Regions from separate parts of the Homo sapiens genome. Here region 2 is linked to region 1. Evidence: promoter capture Hi-C in human tissues and cell types (Jung and others, 2019). All regions are on one chromosome and are shown on one strand. Each heading gives the region's core, a stretch centred on a gene start or on the middle of the fragment in contact. The rest is flanking DNA. Distances are from core to core; before and after follow the strand shown.

Region 1 (2,700 bases), core at 196-2,695:
TTTGACTTCTTGTTTCCTGTTTTTAGATGGATATAACCAAAACAACAACAACAACAACAAAAAACTCTGGTATTGAGCCGACACCAAATACCAAAGTTTTTAAATTTAATCATCGTATAAGCCAAACTTCAGTTATCTCGCATGTAAAGAGCTATATAGAGAAATTTCTCCTATAAATGATTCAGGAGCTAAGCCTAGAAAAATGCGAATCTGCGAACTATTCTCCCTCAGTCCTCTATCCCCACCCCCAGAGTCACTAAAGAAACAGAATACACAACTTCCAGAGAGCCGAGGAGATACAGAACAATCAGGAGAACTGACACTGGACCGTTTCTCCTTATTACATCCATTTGGCTGAAAAGACTTAACTAGAAAGTTGTGTTCTACTGCCCTTTACAAATTTCAGAATTATATGTGACAGTTAAGGTAGCTGCAACACGAGCACATTGTACCAGAGAACGCTGAATCAAGAACATTTATCGCCAGGTCTTAGTTCTAGCTTCTGTCAATTATACAAAGAGTCAGCTATTAAATATTAATGGCATGCCATTTGCGCTGCAGCTCTCGCAAAGAGCCTCCTGCTACCAATTTTTGTGATGAAAGAAAACCTGTCATTTTCTAGATAAACCCCAGGCCACGAGAATCCCTCAGATGAGCGATCGAATTCTGTCCTTCCCAGGGGAAGCTGTCAGGGCCACCCCCATATACCGGGGAGGAGGAGGAGGAACCTGAGGGAGGGCGGGTCCCCGCAGGTCCTGGGTCAAGGGTCTCGTGTTCCCCTTCTCTCCCAGCCATCCGCGACAGGTCGGGAGGCGAGGCGGGGCGGGGCTGGGCCGGCTGTCCGCACAAAGAGAGCCAGCGAGCTAGCCCGCGGACCAGGTACCCCGGGCCGCTGGGGGCCGGGCGGGGCGGGGCGAGGCAGGGAACACTTACCCAGCAGTAGCACGTTCTTCCCCGCAGGGAGCTTGGAGCGCGAGCGGGTGGAGACCTCGCTGAGGATGCAGGACCTAACGGGAAGCAAGGCGTACGGTGAGGCCGGAGGCCGGAGCCGCAGCGCGGGAGGGACGGACCCGGCCTCGGCGCGCCGGGGATGGGGCTGCCGGGAACGCAGTGGCCGGGCCCGGCGCCGAGCTCCAGCGGGCACGGGATCCCGAGGCGTCCGCGCAAGGCCGGGGGAGCCAGCGGGGGCTGAGGGAGAGGTGGAGTCGTTACCAAAGGTTCTGCCCGTCCTCGTCGTCGCCTGCCGCGGCGCCACCGTTGCCCGACGCTATCTCGTTGCCCAAGGGGCCGCCAGTGTAAGTCGAGGATAATCCCGGCGGAGAAGAACCGAAGGAGCCGACTCGCCCCACGGCCGCCATCTTGGTCGGGAATCACACCACTCCCGGCAAGACTAAATGTGCGAGGCGGCTGAGGCGGTGGCGGTGGAGGCGGCGGGAACCCGGATATGGGGCGTTCAGCGCACGGGAGCGGGGCGGGGCCTGCGGGGGCGGGGCCCCGGGCCGGGCCAGGACTGATGGAGCGAGCGAGAACGGACTGCGCGTGCGTGGCTGCCTGGCCGGCGCTGAGGGGCTGAGCGTACGCGGGCGGCGGGGTGGGCCGCTATGCTGCAACTGAAGCCCAGTGATCTGACAGTATGGAAGTGCTTTCCTTCCGCTCATCCGCGGCCCTGGGCTGCGGCAGGGGGGTTGGGTGTGTCAGGTGAAAAGTGCTCCCTCCCACCCTTCAGACAGGTCCCCAAACCCTGCGGCCTGCGCGGAATTCCTGCATTGTCATTGCCGGCCCACCCACTGTTCAGGCTGAGAGCGGTCCCCCGCCCAAACCGGCGCTTCGCCGGCGCCAAGATAGAAATGGGTCGCCCGGCTGGTAAAGAGGCTGCCCTGCAACCCTGGGCTGGAGTATTGCTGTGGTCCTGGATTTCTGGACTTTATTTGCGTTCTCAAGTGGCGAAGTGTTCCTCAACCTGGACCCACATCAGAAGCAGGTTCTCCGAGCCCCTAAGCAGCGGCGTGACAAAGTAATTGTTTACCCTGGAAATAGACTGTTATTTTTTAAAAATTATTGTCAGGGCTTGCTTTAATGTTCTTAATGTTTTTGTATGAGATCCTCCATGTGAGATTTGAAAAGATCCACTATGCGGGTCATCTAACCGGTCACTAGACATTGATTCCACACTTACTACGTCGAGCACAGTTGACACTGGGAATACATGGATGGACTTATACTAGCCCTAAAATAACTCCTTTTCTATTAGAACTTTACTAGGTAAAGGTATTTGAATGTCTGAACTCCATGTTTAGAAGGAGTCATTGGTTTTAAGGCTCTGTCCTAGTACACCTGTAAGAGCATTTGCTTAAAATTGCCTGGCCTTTGTATGTTATCTCTGTCACTTCATATTTGAAAATCACTTGCTAGAATATGGCCTGATCAATGCTGTTATGCTAGTGAGAAAATCCACAACTAAAGACTATTTGCTATATATTAGCATTACGGTTAGAAGTCTGGAAGCCTTTGGAGGCTGGCAAATCTGAGTTCAGGTCTAGCTCTTCGAGTTTACTGGCTGTGTAACCTTAGGCAATTTACTTAACCTCCGTGAGTCTCAGTTTCCTTATCTGTCAAATGAGGATAAAAGAACTTAGAGTTGTTATTGAGATTAAACGGGATGATTCATGTAAAATGGCTTAGAATAACGACTGGCAAATC
Region 2 (2,727 bases), core at 181-2,680, 310 kb after region 1:
GAATCAGAGTTCCTAACTTATGACTTTAAAGAGACTCACAACTTGTCCTGAGAGTCTTGGTTCTGGAAAGAGCTCCAGATACAAATCCTTGAGTTAATTCTGGATTGTCCTATAAAGAGAATCTACCCTGGTGAGTGTCTAGAGTTGGCCATAACAAGAACAGCATGGAAGATGTAGCACCTCATCACTGTTGTAGGGCATTTAGGGGGCAACCACTCATTTTTATTGCTTTTTTGAACATTCTGTTACTTTCACTTTGCTGCTTTTCTTGAATATATGACATTTTGGTCATGTATGTTATTAGAGGATTCCACAAGGTAAACTGATTTGCTGGGGATAGCGATAAACAGGATCAGGAATAGTTGGTTTCTACATAAGAAAGTTTTGATTCTTCAATTACTATATTTCATCACATTTAAGATGCCATTAATTGTAAGGTGTACATTTATTTTACATACAACTAACAAAGGAAGAAACCCACGGACAATTTAGAGATGAATTATAGATTCAGAGAAAGATGTGATGAAAATTTTATATATGTATATATATATATTTTTTTGAGGTGGAGTCTCACTCTGTTGCCCAGGCTGGAGTTCAGTGCCACGATTTTGGCTCACTGCAACTTCTGCCTCCCGGGTTCAAGTGATTTTCCTGCCTCAGCCTCCTGAGTAGTTGGGATTACAGGTACCCGTCACCACACCTGGCTAATTTTGGTATCTTCAGTAGAGACGGGGTTTCACCATGTTGGCCAGGCTAGTCTCAACTCCTGACCTCAGGCAGTCCACCTGCCTCAGCCTCCCAAGAGTGTTGGGATTACAGGCATGAGCCACTGCGCCTGGCCAAAAATTACATTTTAGAGTGCACCACAGTAGCTCCGCATACCCAGTATGGTCGCCTACAAGTGTATGGGTGATGATTGCATTCTCTTACCTTCTGACCGTTGGGCTCTTTAAATACCACTGTTCTCCACAGTTGGCATCACTGATCGATATCTATATTCTTTCCCTTGAGAGCCAGATTTGGCCCAAGTCTCCACCATGCTGACTGACTGCCACTCAGTAGTCAGCTGGAAAGTGCACTGATTTGCCAGTCCAAATGTAGACCCTCAACTTTTAAATGTTTAATTAGATCTGTTAACATCCCAAAGATGGTTAAATTTTCTCTCAAGCACCATGCTTGTTGGGTGATTTCTCTTTTCTTACTGTGAAATGTATATATCTGTTTTGGAAGTTTACCCAGCCTTTCTACATTGTCATTTCCCCCAACCTATCTGCCCTGTATGTCCTTCAGATGCCCTGCTGTTAGAGGTTGGGAACTAGTTCAATAAGTCCTGGTCTGCACATCTTGGAATGCCATGCTTGGCTGGGTCGTGCGTAATTTGGAAGGGAAAGACCTATTTTTCCACTATGCATTGGGTAGGGCTTTTGTGACTCTCAGCCCAAGGAATATCTTTGCATGCTTGCTGATTATTAAAATTGCAACAAAAGCTTTGAATCCCCCTTTGAACCTGTTTGAAAAATGGAAGAAGCAATTTTTGTCATAAAATGTGAGTTCCAGACATGAGGGATAAGCGATAAGCCTGGCTAGGAGACTAGGGGAAGAGGTGAGTAGGGTAGTACACCCATTCCTATGCAAAGGGAGTGGTGTTTTTGTTTTTTTATTTTTTGAGACAGAGTTTTGCTCTTGTAGCCCAGGCTGGGTCTTTTTTTTTCTTCTAACATATGATAGAAGTTAGATGTAAAAAAATCAATTTGGCAAGTAGTATGACATTAATATTAATAGAAAGCAGTTTGCCACCTCTGCTTTCTATTGAGGAAGGATTAAGAAATGTTACAGACATAGGTTTGGTTGCCTTGGTGAAATATTAGCTTGGACACCAGTTGTGCTAATTAATAACCAACACATCTAAAAATATAGAGGGTGCCGGTTACTAAGTTCTACTCTTTGGGCTCTAACCCTGTCACACTCTTGCCATGTGACACTGGGGCTGTGACTCTTCAAACTACATGTATGGGAAAAGGACTTCTTCCCTTTTTCTTCCAATTCATATTACTTATATTATTATCATATTATATATTTGTTTTGAGACAGAGTCTTGCTCTGTCACCCAGGCTGGGGGGCGCGGTGGTGCAGTCACAGCTTGCTGCAGCTTCGATCTCCCAAGACTCAAGCAATCCTTCCAGCTCAGCCTCCCAAGTAGATGGGACTATACACAAGCGCCACCATGCCTGGCTAATTTATTTTTTTGTAGAGACGGGGTCTCACTCTTGGCCAGGCTGATCTCAAACTCGTGGGCTTAAGCTATCCTCCTGCCTCTGCCTCCCAGAGTGCTGGGATTACAGGTGTGAGCCACCGTACCCGGCCCCAATTTTTAATAGCAATTCTTTTTCACCCTGACAGCAGAAGTTGGTTTCAATTTCAGATCTTGCCACTCTCAGAATTAGCTGGATGTAACCTCACCATCTTATTCTGGGTTCTTGTAACCACAGCTTTCTTTCCTTTGTTCTCTCAGACAAAGCAGAAGAAGCTGCTTCTGCAGGTACTCTCTGCCTCAGTGTGCTCTTTGCCCCAGCAGTTCTCCCATACCTGTTTAACCATTTCCCTATGCTAAATTCTGTTTAAATGTCTAGGGAGCTCTCTTGCTCTCTCTCGCTTTCTCTCTTTTTCCCTGGATGAATCCTGACAGCGTGAGATACTAAAAATGTATCAATGCTATTATGATACCTG

The links. Contacts are between HindIII fragments. The study calls those that stand out against the background at their distance.
Region 2: a fragment that was not itself captured here is called in contact with the fragment with the promoter of DYNC1LI1 in region 1 in 1 of the 25 tissues and cell types used here (liver).

The regions. Positions count from the first base shown.
Region 1 is chr3:32,569,413-32,572,112 of GRCh38, forward strand. DYNC1LI1 (dynein cytoplasmic 1 light intermediate chain 1) reads right to left here and starts at 1,446. Exons shown (of 13, transcript NM_016141.4): 1 at 1,213-1,446; 2 at 934-1,007. The coding sequence starts at 1,358. RefSeq lists an enhancer at 654-1,439 and silencers at 714-1,203, 1,384-1,643. The HindIII fragment of the contact is 21,345 bases long and covers 1-2,700 here.
Region 2 is chr3:32,880,478-32,883,204 of GRCh38, forward strand. All of the region lies in intron 2 of TRIM71 (tripartite motif containing 71), which reads left to right. Among named protein-coding and RNA genes, the nearest start is that of TRIM71, 64 kb to the left of the region's middle. The HindIII fragment of the contact is 5,549 bases long and covers 1-2,727 here.